4 separate regions of the Homo sapiens genome follow, and all the other regions are linked to region 2. Evidence: promoter capture Hi-C in 16 types of primary human blood cells and fetal thymus (Javierre and others, 2016). All regions are on one chromosome and are shown on one strand. Each heading gives the region's core, a stretch centred on a gene start or on the middle of the fragment in contact. The rest is flanking DNA. Distances are from core to core; before and after follow the strand shown. Region 1 overlaps ZNF496-DT (ZNF496 divergent transcript). Region 2 holds the start of SH3BP5L (SH3 binding domain protein 5 like). Region 3 holds the start of LOC124904574 (a long non-coding RNA gene). Region 4 holds the start of OR2B11 (olfactory receptor family 2 subfamily B member 11).

What was found. Contacts are between HindIII fragments. The CHiCAGO score rates a contact against its expected background, and 5 or more counts as called.
Region 1: a fragment that was not itself captured here is called in contact with the fragment with the promoter of SH3BP5L in region 2 in 1 of 17 cell types (M0 macrophages); the score reaches 5.0 in M0 macrophages.
Region 3: a contact is called between a fragment that was not itself captured here and the fragment with the promoter of SH3BP5L in region 2, in 1 of 17 cell types (fetal thymus). The highest score is 5.4, in fetal thymus.
Region 4: a contact is called between a fragment that was not itself captured here and the fragment with the promoter of SH3BP5L in region 2, in 1 of 17 cell types (M0 macrophages). The highest score is 11.2, in M0 macrophages.

What each region holds. Positions count from the first base shown.
Region 1 is chr1:247,358,598-247,361,870 of GRCh38, forward strand. All of the region lies in intron 1 of ZNF496-DT (ZNF496 divergent transcript), which reads left to right. Among named protein-coding and RNA genes, the nearest start is that of ZNF496-DT, 28 kb to the left of the region's middle. The HindIII fragment of the contact is 1,438 bases long and covers 1,123-2,560 here.
Region 2 is chr1:248,824,049-248,827,418 of GRCh38, forward strand. It overlaps SH3BP5L (SH3 binding domain protein 5 like), which reads right to left and starts at 1,867. Exons shown (of 7, transcript NM_030645.3): 1 at 1,787-1,867; 2 at 705-1,318. The coding sequence starts at 887. MIR3124 (microRNA 3124) reads left to right here and starts at 2,329; the gene lies at 2,329-2,395. RefSeq lists enhancers at 1,539-1,598, 1,661-2,212, 1,969-2,228, 2,213-2,763, 2,339-2,388 and 1 more. The HindIII fragment of the contact is 10,505 bases long and covers 462-3,370 here.
Region 3 is chr1:247,335,810-247,339,094 of GRCh38, forward strand. All of the region lies in intron 1 of ZNF496-DT (ZNF496 divergent transcript), which reads left to right. It overlaps LOC124904574 (a long non-coding RNA gene), which reads right to left and starts at 927. Exons shown (of 2, transcript XR_007067004.1): 1 at 645-927; 2 at 66-355. RefSeq lists an enhancer at 4-504 and a silencer at 1,658-1,952. The HindIII fragment of the contact is 860 bases long and covers 1,473-2,332 here.
Region 4 is chr1:247,457,307-247,460,501 of GRCh38, forward strand. OR2B11 (olfactory receptor family 2 subfamily B member 11) reads right to left here and starts at 798. Exons shown (of 2, transcript NM_001004492.2): 1 at 333-798. The HindIII fragment of the contact is 3,294 bases long and covers 1-3,194 here.

The DNA of each region.
Region 1 (3,273 bases), core at 592-3,091, 1.5 Mb before region 2:
CCCCCAGGTCGATTTGATCTCAGGCTAATCAAGAACTCAACCTCCCATTTGCCTGGAACTACTCCAACCCCAGACCCTAATAAACACTTTAGTCTACCAAATATTAACCCTAAAATGGTAACAATAATTGAGGTAAAGGATTTAAGGCAAACCTTAGAAATTGAGACAGGGTATAGGGATGTGAATGCCTGGGTCAAATGGGTCATATTTTCGGTACAAGCCCTCAGCAAAAGTAACTGCTACGCGTGTGCTGCAGGACCACCTCAGGCGCAGGTGGTTCCGTTTCCCCTGGGATGGAATAGTGATTCTAGAGGAATGTGTTGCATGTTGGCTGCATACCAGCACAATGATATAAGTAAGGAGAAGTAAGACTTGTAAGAGTCTTTCATTGCTGTTTCCTGCATTGCGGAGCTCAGATCCCAGAGCAATACCCTCGTTCTCTGCAGAGAACATGAACTACTCCTCTTGCCTCTCTAGACAGGGGGCAGAGTTCCATAAGCCTATGGGAGAACTCTCAACTTGTACCCACATCCTAAACGTCACTGGTGAGTTGAGCAATGGCAATTACTCAGCTCTCCATACACCCCGGGCTGATGTCTGGTAGTATTATGGGAAAAGGAACCTACGTAACCTGTTACTGTCCAATGGGACCAGGACTTGTGCTTTAGTCTCATTGGCCATTCCCTTCACCCTGGCATCCCATAAGATACCCCAAAATACACATGGCCACTGAAACCAGAGAGATTTCACAAATTCTTTTAATCCCAATGTGTATGTTGACTCAATAGGAGACCCTGGTGGGGGTAGGGTTGCCTAATAAATTGAAGGCCTGAAACGCAGTAGGTGCTGGGTTTAAAGTCAGGACACTTCTGCTGGTCAACTATTAAGAAGAATGCGAATTAAATTAACTCCATCTATTATAATCAACAGGAATTCATCAATTATACTTGGGATGCCCTCAAAGGGTGGCTAGCCAGTTAGATGCCACCAGCTAAATGGCCTGGGAAAACAGACTTGCGCTAGACATGATACTAGAGAAAAAGGGAGCGTGTGTGTTATGCTGGGCGGGAAATTTTGTACTTTCATTCCCAGCAATACTGCCCCAAATGGGACCATCACAAAAGCTTTACAAGGACTAACAACTCTAGCCAACGAACTGGAAGAAATGCTCGGAATTAATGACCCATTTACGGGTTGGCTAGAAGGCTGATTTGGAAAATGGAAAGGAATGGTAGCTTCAATCCTTATATCTCTCATAATTGTGGCAGGATTCTTAATAGCAGTGGAATGTTGTATTATCCCTTGTGTGAGGGGACTAGCACAGAAATTAATTAAAACAGCTATTAATAAACAAATGCCCATGACTTACCAGCAAAATAACCTGCCACTATTAGAAAGCAAATTAAACTCACTCTCCTATGAGGAAGAAAGTAAACAACTTCTGGAGCGATTCACGGCCCAAAAGGGTTTAAAAGAAAATGAGAACAAAATAAGTAAATAGAAAAGAGGAGGGAATTGGTGAGAAAACCTTTTAAATGGTCCATTTGCAAGGCATGATAAGTCTAAGCACTGGCAGCCAGCCTGCAAATGTAAGAAACCACATGGCTCATGCACCCAGAAGGTCACAGTAAGTGGACAGAATGTAGAGGTGTGGTCAGCTCATAAAAGGGAAGAAAGTTTTGTTATGGGGAAATCAAAACTTAAGTGGGGAAGAGGACGGGGTATAACTTTGTAAGGGGGATAATGAAAGTTAGGCGATGTCCGGGAAGATTGTAACCCCACAGTACTCAACCAGTGAGGAACTGGGGGAGGGACTTGTGTGCTAGGACATAAATTACCCGTTGTGACCGCCCTGGTTGTGCCTGCTCACCAGACACCCGATCTCGCAAGACCGTTATGAAAAGTCTCCCTTTCGCTGTTCTTTGTGCCTCTAAGTCCATTCTTTGGGTTTGGATGGGTGAGTGTGTTTCTCACAAATGCACCACTGCACCCCTGCCTAGGTGACAGAGACAGACTGTGTCTCAAAAAAATGAAAATATCAGGGAACTCAATGCAAAAGACTGCGGCGCTTTAGACTTGAGAGTAACCTGCCCATGACCCTTGGGGCTCCGTGAGGAAGACAAAAGACCCCCAAAAGGAGGGTGTATGGCACCTTTTTCTGGTTTCTCAAGGGGTCTCAGGACTGCTAGAAGTTCCCTCTTGATTTCTTCGTGTGTTATTGAAGGTGGCAGAAAGGAAGAAGGGCCAACAGTAAATGGGAAAACAATTCTTAGAGGGCTCAATTTGGGAAGATTTTAAACTTCCCAAAAAGGCCAAGGATGTTTTACATTTTTCTCAGTAAAAATCATGCCGACAACAACAACAACAAAAAAGTGAACAGATGGAAGGAACATAAAATTGCTTTTTAACAAAATTTCAGTTGACTGAAAAGAATTCCCAGGGTAGGAACAGGATCCAAAGAGAAAAAGCATTGCTCTATATATCTGCCAGGGAAAAATCCCCCAAAAACTAAAAGAAAAAAGAAAAAGCAGAAGGGTGTGTTGAAAATACACAAGCAGCAAGCTTTCTGTTTCATGAGCACGTGGCCTAACACTGGAGTGGAAAGAATTTCGGCTGTGGAGCGCTCCCACCCGCTCTGCTCATGGGAGGAGCCCTGCCTCTCTTCAGCTTCCCAGCAGTGGTGGGAGACACACGTCTCTTCTGCCCACGGGAGGAAGCGAGACAAAAGAAAAAAGTTGCTATCACACTCTAAATACAAACCAGTTTTCTATCAAAGGTATACCTGAACAAATGACTCAACGCCAAGTGAAATAAGCACCAAGGAGACCAGAACCAAGAAGCCTTTCACGGCTTTCACCAAGGTCTCCAGAGAGGAGGCAAAAGTTGCAACCCTGCTCAGATCCAGACCACTCCAGGCAGCTCAAATAAAGGAGAATTTTAGTAGCTGCAAATGGGGCTACTGTCTGGCCATATTATCTAGGGTTTCAGCCTCTCAGCTGGCTGACTGCACACAAAGGCCTGACAACCCGTATCTCCCACAGACGGAAGATTGCATGGCAGTTTGTAAGATGGGAAGTCAAAAGCTGTCTGTGGGAATAGACAGGATTGCAAAGTGAAAGGGTACCCCAAAAGGTCAGAGTTATGCAAATACCAAACTAACTTTTTACAAATGTTTCTATTTGTTTTGTCCTGAGTTAAAAGATTTGCATTTCCAAGAGTCTGGTTTCCTGACTGGGAATCAAATCCAGGCTGTGGTGGTGAAAGCATGGAACC
Region 2 (3,370 bases), core at 617-3,116:
TACCAACTAGATTGTAGACACTCCAAGGCAATAAACTGCTCTTCCATTCCTTTAGGAGACCCACTATCCTGAGGGCCAGGTATGTATGTTACTAAGGATTGGCCACAACAAAAGTTACAAATCCTTGAACATATGGGGTTTCTTTATAGATCTAAAGTTGATGCTACCTTTATAACACTGGAAAGGTCTCACTGTTTACAAGGGTGAAACACATTATCAGAGCAATGTGGGCCGCACATCCCTGGAAGGTACCGCTGAGAAGGTGAGAAAGGGGAAAAGATTCTCTCACTCAGCCTCAAAACTGTCCCCCAGTATCAAAGTCATCTCCTCTCACACAGCATCCCTAACTAAGGTGGCAGCCCCTCTGCTTATCTGGAAAGAAGTACAACACACCTACCCTCCACTGACCTAAAGTGTGCCTCCTCCATCTACTGCCAAGTGACACTTTGCTCCTTCAGTGAAGCTTTCAGCAATGCCTCCCAAGCACTAAGGCCAGGCCTTTCTCTGCACTCCATCAGCACTTCAGACACACAACTCTTTTGGAACTTGTTACATTACCCTGCAATGATTTGTTGACAAACTTGTTCTCCTTTCCTGCCCCAGCAGACTGGGGACAGAGTAAGTCTAAGCCCTCATTCATCCAACACTCTTCAGGGAGGCTGGAATCTGGGCTCTCCTTCTCTCCCTGCTCTCAGTGCTCTCACCTGTATTCTAGGATCCAGTTCTTCCTCCTCTCTTGGGGACAATTTGGCCTCACTGCTGCTGCTTCCACCTCCTCCAGGCTCTTCTGCGACTGGGCTCCTAGGGACTTCATCCTCTACAACTTCAGGCCGCAGCTCCCCCTGTGGGGTCTCCCGCCCTCCTGGAACCTGTCTGAGCTCAGCCATGCTGACAGGGGGAGGGCAGAGCCCTATGCACAAGAGAGGACTGACATGCTGGGACCAGGGCCCCAGCTTGGGGCTTCCTGGGCTCTAGATGGCCAGGAGAAGAGTTTCTCTTCTCAAAAGGCAGAAAAGGTGGGCACAGGAAGAACCTCACACTAGGTTAGAGGTTGAGATTCAAGTTGTCAGTGGGGTTCCTAGAGCTGAAGCCTTGTCTGTGCAAAAGTTCTTCCCTTCCCGCCACAGGGAGTCCACTGTGACAAACCCGGAGCAACAGCTCCAAGGCAGGGGGCAAAGGGGGCTTGGATCCTGGACCGAGGCCTGCTAGGAGGAGCACCATTCGGGAGGGTGGAGGCAGGCGCCTCCAGGCTGTGGTGGCAGCTGGAGAGAGAAGGCTGGGCCCGAGCTGAGGCTGTAGGATGAGCGTCTCTGGGGAGCTGCAGAGAAACAAAGGCCAAGTATATGGTCATGTCAGCATCAAAACCGCAGCCACCAGCCCCTTCCAACTCTACAGCCTCCCAAAAACTACACTCTCACCACGCCCCCACCCATGTATTCCGACCAGTCCCTACCTCAACTTCTCTCCTTAGCCCTCAAGGACTTTAGATTCTACTCTTCCCCCGTCCCAGCTCCTCTCGACCCAGGCCCTCCTCAACCAGCGCCTTCGAGACTTTCCTCTGCACCCCTAGGCTCTCCTCCATCTCCTGTGGTCTCCCGCTCGTCCCACTCCACCCCAGCCCGGCTTTGCGATTCACCTTGTAACCCCGAGCCCCACCCCACCTTCTCTGTCCAACCCGAGACATCTAAGCCTCCCGTCTCCAATTCCACACTCTTCCGCAATCCCAAGGACCCTACTCCCGTCCATTCTACCCAGCCATGCGCAAAAGCCCCCCGCACAGCCTTACCTCAGTTTACCTTCCCGTCCGCGGAGCTTCTATGCTGCAAACAATCTCCCCCCCTCCCTCCCCGCAACAAGCCGATCCAACCAAAAACGACCAGGCAGACCAGAAGCGGAAATACATCATCGGTGAACAACGCTCTCCCTCCCACGCTCTCTCTCAAGCCGGGCCTCCTCGGGAGGCCTCACACTCCCCCGCCCTGCCTTCAGTTTCCGTACAAAATGGTGCCCCACGTTGCTCAGGCTAGCCGTAGGTTGCCTCCAGACCATACTCCACCAAGGCTGAATGAAAGAAAAACATGAGAATGTGGTGCTGAAGAAAATTAGGGCGCGGGACGGAAATCGAGAGTAACTGGTGAGAAGAGGAATACTAGATATAAAACGGAGATAATAGCCTCAGAGTGAGTAGTGCCATCTTGCTTTACGGAGCTGCGGCGGCGGCTGCCGGAAAGCCACTTCCGGCCTGCTCCACGGAGGCGGGCGCGACGCCGAAAGTGAGCTGGTAAACTTCCGGCAGTGGCTCCGGGGGCAACTCGAGTCCGGACGCTGGCGGGCTTCGCGGGCGAAGGCAAAGTCGATTTCCAAAAGTGACTTTCCTCACTCCCGTGAAGTCGGCGGAACCCTCCACTAACGGCGTCTGAGCGGACGGCTCCGATGTGTAAATCCCACTCCTCGAGGCCTCTGGACCTTGCACCTTGAACGACGTTTTGGTGGGGTCACCAATTGCTCCGTGAATACTAACCAGGAACTTAGTCAACATTAACTCAGTTAATTCACTCGTGCACCCAGGGTCAGATGCCCTCGATGAGCAGGAGTTTGTTACATGGCATTGTGTATCGTTACCTAGGTCCCTGAGCGAGCGCCTGCTTGTCACCTCTAGGTGTCGCTTGGTGAGGGGAGGGCCTAGGCCTAAGGGGAAGGGCTTCATTCAGGGTTGGATGTTTTGTTTTTACAAAAGGCGTAACTTCCTCAGAGTCAACTCAAAACTTTGCCCTGCAGATGGAAAAGGCAAATGGGCTGAATTCCCCTCCTTTTTGGATCCTGTCAAAGACAACCCAGCTAGACATTGAAGCAGTGAAAAAGACTTTTTTCAGTAACTACTTACAGAAAGGAAAAGAACTGACCTCTGTTCCGATTTGTACAGAAGTGACTGGGCATTTCAAAGGGAGAATGAAGGAAGGAAGGTGATCAGGGCTCAATAGTGTTGGAGAAGTGAAAAATTACAGATTTGATTGGCATAGATGCGATTCGGCCAGATGTGTCTGCTAGCTAGCAGCTATAGAAGTTAGAGTGCTTTTTTATGTATTTATTTATTTTGAGACGGAGTTTAACTCTTGTTGCCCAGGCTGGAGTGCAATGGCGCGATCTTGGCTCACTGCAACCTCCGCCCCACCCCCACCCCCGAGTACAAGAGATTCTCCTGCCTCAGCCTCCCGAGTAGCTGGGATTACAGGTGCATGCCAACACATCTGGCTAATTTTTCTATTTTTAGTAGAGACGGGGTTTCGCCACGTTGGCCAGGCTGGTCTCGAACTCCTGACCTCAGGTGATCCACCCGCCTGGGCATCCCAAAGTGCTAGGATTAGAGGCG
Region 3 (3,285 bases), core at 653-3,152, 1.5 Mb before region 2:
CACAGCATCTGGGCAGGGAGAGCCTGGGGCAGGCTTCTTCCAACTTTGCCAACACTCCAGTAAAATAAGGAGCAAGTGTGACGTTTTATTTTATGAGGCAACTTGGCTAGCTGTGGTACTCAGTTTTTGTTCAAACACCAGTCTGGTGTTTCTGTGAGGCTGTTTTTTAGATATGATTAATAGTTAAATCTGTAGACTTTGAATGCAGCGGGTTACCCTCCATAGCGTGGGCGGGCTTCATCCAATCTGTCGAAGGCCGTAAGAGCAAAGACTGCAGTCTCCTGAGGAAGGAACTCCCCCTGCGGCGCGCCTTCCGACTTGCTGCAGCTTCGGCTTTCTGGATCTGCAGCCTGCCCTGCAGATTTTAGACTTGCAAGCCAATCAGTTCCTTAAAAGAAAACAGTCTCCCTCATCTCTCTCTATTGATCTCTAGCTCTCTATCCCCACCCCCTTCCCTCCCCCCACTCCACATGCTATTTGTTCCGTTTCTCTGGAGAACCCTGACTGCTACACAGGGCCCTTAAGTGACAGGGAGAAAGAGAGGGTGAAATGTGAGAGCAGGAGGAAGAGGGCGTGAGACGGCCATCTTGCAGAGTGGAAAGGTGAATGGACGATAACAAAGGAAAGGGTGAATTATATATAACCTGGAAAGTGAAGTGTGCACAAGGAAATGTGATGTGTAACCTAAAGCCCCAGTGCTTTGCAGGTGGGCAGCCGTTCCACTGTGACATCGCCCCCCAGGTGGGCAGCCGTTCCACTGTGACATCACCCCCTGCAGAGGAGGTCATCATTCCGCATAATATGCTTGTAGACTGATGACAAATACAGGTGTGCAAATATGTGAAGCCCCATCACTGGACCAACCACACCTGCCTTCTCTGGGAGCTGTCAGTACCCACAGGCCCCAACCACAGCTTGCGCGGCTAACCAGGCACCAGGGACTTGCATGCTTTTTGCAATGTGAGAAGCTCTGTTGTAAGCTGGGCATAGTAGATACTCAATAAACTGTGGCTTTAGGAACAGTCCTAGGAATAGTAGTGCTAGTTCTTACTGTGTTAGTCACAGACATCTAGGGGGCATGGACAGCAAGGCATTAATCTGGTCCCTTATTGTGGCCTGTGGAAAGGGGTCAGTGAGAAGCTGCTCAGTGAAACAGCTTTGCATGATGACATTTTCTCACTATAGAGGCCTCCCAGCTGTCACAGAGGCCTGTTCATCTATTTTATTTTTTCTTTTTTTGAAAGCAAAAACACTTTGAGATTTGCAGGTAGGCTGACATAACCCACTCTCAGGGGCTCCAGTGAAAGTACCTCTTTTAAGTGGCCAAGTTGTCACTAAAGAGATGACATCTTTTTCCTGGAAATCAGCGTTGGATGCTACAGTCAAGAAAATAAAGACCCCAAACATTGGTATTTGGAGCTATTCTTGAGCATTGGGTTGTTCATGTTTATTCAGCTGGACCATCAGGGACAAGCTTGTGCCTTGACAAATTCAGATTTGCAGAAATGACCAGATTTATCGTCTTGATTCAGTGAGCGGGGGAGGGCACCCAGAGGAGGCTGGAATATGGCTTGATAATGGGAGAAGTATTTTTGCGAGGTTTGCTCCGGATGGAGGAGGAGAAGGAGGAAGAGGGGGAGGGGAGGAGGAGGATGATGTCAGGTGTGATGTAAGTGTGGGAGTAAGTCTCCCTTGTGGGATCTTTAAGAATCACTCCCAAGTGGCTGCAGCAATTACAGTCCAAGAATGATATGAAAGTACAGGATTTATGCTGCTCCAAGGTCCTGGAGAGGGAGGCACCGCATGCGTGCAGGGCCGTGTTGGATGAGAGCCAAGGGCCCAGGCTCTGCAGTGCAGGTGGGGGGTCGAGAAAGAGAGAGAACCCGTGGGCAAGTACCTGTGTCGGGGGGTCAGGGTGGGGCACACAAGCAGAAGGTATGAGGGGATTTTACTGGTGCATTGGAATGTCGCTGGGTCACAGTCGGGGGAAGGCAAGAAGGGGACCTGGAGGCAGAGACCAGGCTTATCACACCAGTGTGCCTAGTTGCTTGGGGGACTCACAGCCTGTGTGTGATACTGAGGCCTCATGGAAGTATGAAGTTTTAATAATTGATAATGTATCAGGGAAGTGGGAGTCGCATCTGCACTGGTTGTTGTTTAGAGGGGGGCTCAGAAGAAGTAGGGGTTCACTGAGGGTGATGGGCCGTCAGGAGGCAAGGATGCCTTGGTTGTTGCGTTCCCCCAGTCATAAATGAGTGCAGCAAGTGGGTCTAGGGCGTTCTTGGTTAGAAAGCAGGAGTCCATCTGTCAAGCGGGCGTTGTGGCGTTTCGAAGCTTTGGCAAGACCTTGGGGAAAACCACGTGTCCTGTGAATGCACAGTGGGTTACTCGTCTGTCTTCTTAGCCTGATGAAAGGCAGGGCTGCCTGTTCTCTTTTCTCAGTCCTTACAGATCTTGTAGATTTTCTCACATTCGCTCCTGGAGAGGTTTTTTTTTGTTTTTGTTGCTGTTGTTGTTGTTGTTTTGAGAGAGTCTCGCTCTGTCCCCAGGCTGGAGTGCGGTGGCGCCATCTCGGCTCACTGCAACCTCTGCCTCCTGGGTTCAAGCGATTCTTCTGCCTCAGCCTCCTGAGTAGCTGGGATTACAGGTGCCCACCACAACGCCTGATTAATTTTTGTATTTTTAGTAGAGACGAGGTATCACCATGTTGGTCAGGCTGGTCTTGAACTCCTGACCTCGTGATCCACCTGCCTTGGCCTCCCAAAGTGCTGGGATTACAGGCGTGAGCCACCGCGCCCAGCCTGGAGAGGTTTTGATGCTCTTAGGAGGGAAACGCCTTGATGTTACAGTTCCGCAGATGTTTCCATGAATGTGAGTTTGATCCTTTGTGATCGTCTTTGTTGTCTGCTCCTTAAATGCATTGAATCCTAGCATCCTTGGAATTTCAGGAGGGAAACTGATGTTCAGAGAAAGAGGATAGTGGTCAGGGACCCAGTGTTACAGGGGTATGTGTGTGTGTCTGAATGAGGGAGGGATGGGGAAGTAGACTTTGTACGGAATATGTTCAGCATTTGCTAGGTATATTATCTGCATTGTATTGCCTAATTCTCACCACCATCCCGGGAAGTTGGAGCCCTGAGTAGTGTTTGGACTCTGCCTTCCAGAAAAGAAGGGTTTGCTGCAGGCCTCAAATGGGGTGATTGGTTCTTGGGTGAGTAAATACCAGAGTAAACTCCTCTGGTATTGTAGGACAGTGTTTTGGTCGATCTAGTAAAGGGGGAAAAC
Region 4 (3,195 bases), core at 298-2,797, 1.4 Mb before region 2:
CAGCAGCCTCAAAAATAGGAGGAAGCGGAGGAAAGGGACTCAGCGTCCCCACACACTGTGTGCAGCGTCCACTGTTCAGATGAGTGTCAGACAGCGTGCCTACCTCCAGGCAGAGCATCCTGTTCTGCTCCCGGCTCTCTTTTCTAGATAAAACCACACAACACAATTTTACACTTGCTGCTTAATACGTGGCCATTGCTCATCGACCCATCCATCCTCCACCTCATGTGCCCTTGGTCTCCAGCATAGCCCAGTGTTAATACTGCCCATCCTGCACCTCCACTGCACTGTACAGATTTCAGTTTGACTGGAGTTGAGGATGAATCACTCACCTCCAGGGTTCCTGGCTCCTACAGAAGACTTGCTTTAGGACTGAAGGCTATATTGCAGTCTGTGTTGGCCTTAGTCGCGGAGGGACATTTAAGGATGGACTTACTAGAAATGCTCTTCATATTCCAGGAACACACAGCACATTTCCTCTGATGGGCTGCTGGGACCTTACCATTTACTGGAACCCAACCCTCTGAGCAAGTCTGAGAGATTATTCTCAGTCTAGAAGGAGTCTGCTGTCCGTTGCAACAGGCTTGCTGGGGAGACTCAGGGTTTCCCGGACTCTCCCTTGGCAGTACGTGAGGTCGGTGGAACTGCCTTAACCTTAGTCCCCCAGAGTGCCTATAGGTACCTTGACATGGTGGAGGTTACTTCCGAGGATAAGGCTTTCAGGCAACACACCTTGCCCGTGTCACGCTCTCTGTTCATTTCAAAATTATCCCTCAGATTTAACTTGACCTCATTCTCTCCACTGTTTTCTATAAGGGCCCTGCTCATTCTCCCCAGACGTGAGAGTAAAAACTTGCTCTCCTCTGGCTGTGAAATTATCCCTGATGCTTTATTTAATTAGTGTCTAAGGGGTTAGCTGATAATTGAGGTGGTGTGAGAGCTTGGAGTTCTTGCAATTAATGGCAAATCCCAGAAGACCAGAGAAAATGGATCAATAATGGGGAATAAGAACTCTGTGTGTGTGTGTGTGTGTGTGTGTGTGTGTGTGTGTGTGTTGAACTCTTTAGGGCTGGTGCGTGGTGTGTGTGTGTGTGTTGAACTCTTTAAGGCTGGTGCGTGGTGTGTGTGTGTGTGTTGAACTCTTTAGGGCTGGTGCATGGTGTGTGTGTGTGTTGAACTCTTTAGGGCTGGTGCGTGGCGTGTGTGTGTGTGTGTTGAACTCTTTAGGGCTGGTGCGTGGTGTGTGTGTGTGTGTTGAACTCTTTAGGGCTGGTGTGTGTATGTGTGTGTGTGTTGAACTCTTTAGGGCTGGTGCATGGTGTGTGTATGTGTGTGTGTGTTGAACTCTTTAGGGCTGGTGCGTGGTGTGTGTGTGTGTGTGTTGAACTCTTTAGGGCTGGTGTGTGGTGTGTGTGTGTGTGTGTGTTGAACTCTTTAGGGCTGGTGCGTGGTGAGGTGATTACTGTAACATCAGAGTGGAGTAGTAACTAGAGTGTGTGATTCAGGTAAAGCATGAGACCTGAACTGGCTTCAACACCAGGCTCGGTCACTCATGCCATGTGTCTTTGAGCAGGTTACTTAACCTATCTGTGCCTCACTTGTGTTTTCTTAAAAATACAAGAAACATTAGTATTGTTTTGCACAGTCTGTTACAAGGGTGGAATGAATTGTTTCTTGTAAAGCACTCAGAACAATGAGTGGCACAGAGTGATACATGTTGAGGGCTTTTTGTTGTTGTTGTTGTTGATATATTGTCTCAGCACCCTATTATATTTTTCACATGGAGGGGATAAAAAAAATCTTTCTTAAGACAGGCCGCAAGAAGTAGTGCACATTTTATTTTATTTATTCTTTTATTTTCTTATCTGTATAAATTTAAGGGCTACTGGTGCAATTTTGTTACACGGATATATTGTGCAGTGGTGAAATCTGGGCATTTAGCGTAACTATCACCCGAATAACGTACATTTTACCCCACGTAATTTCTCCTCCCTCACCCCCTGACACCGTCCTACCCACCCTAGTCTCCAGGGTCTCTTACTCCATCCTCTGCATCCCTGTGGACACATAATTTAGCTCCCACTTGTAACTGAGAACATCTGGTATTTGACTTTCTGTTCCTCAGTTGTTTGGCTTAAGATAGTGTCCTCCAATTCCATCCACATTGCAGCAAAGATATGACTTCATTTTTTTTATGGCCAAATAGAATTCTTGTAGCGCAAATTTTAATTCATGAGCTACAATTCATGTGATTAAATGCTGCTATGGGAACCACTGTGAATAGCAGCACCTTGGTGCAGTTACTCTCCCTCTCTAGGTTTTGACTCGATCGTCTTTTTTCTCTAGCTTTAGATGTCTAAGTGGACACAGGGTGAGTCATGGCCATGAGTTAGGGCTCTATTTTTACCTTCTGGGGATGGAGGGAGGAGAGAATATGTCCCAGAAGAAGATGGGGCGACTGTGCTTTGGCGAAGAAGTGGGAGCTGTCCCTGATTCTAAGCATGCTCTCTTGTACTCTCTCCCACGGAGAGCCAGATGAGGCACCAGGGACATCTTAGACACTTTTTTTTTTTTTGAGACGGAGTTTCACTCTTGTCTCCCAGGCTGGAGTGCAGTGGTGCGATCTCGGCTCACTGCAACCTCTGCCTCCTGGGTTCAAGTGATTCTCCTGCCTCAGCCTCCCGAGTCTATGGGACTACAGGCACCCACCACCACACCTGGCTAATTTTTTGTGTTTTTAGTAGAGACGGGGTTTCATTATGTTGGCCAGGCTGGTCTCGAACTCCTGGCCTCAGGTGATCCGCCTGCCTCGGCCTCCCAAAGTGCTGGGATTACAGGTGTGAGCCACCGTGCCCGGCCTTAGACACTGTCTTGTTATCCAGCTGGGATAATTTCCAGAAGTGGAGAGGCTTCCATATCTCTGCAGTTGGGGGAAGAAAGGTGGAATAAACAGTTTTGTGCTGAGAAAACCCAGATGCAATTGTAGTTGGAAACTCCCACGACTGAGACTGACACAGGGTCCCACTGGAATTGTGCTAATTCTCGTCTTGATCATCTTTCTTCAAATATCTGTTCTCCCACTCTTATTGTTGGCACCCCCTTTTACTCCATGCAGCAAGGTACTCTGTGATGTGATGATATTTTCCAGGCTTTCTAACAGATAGGGGAAGCTAATGAGATAAAATTACTGGGAAA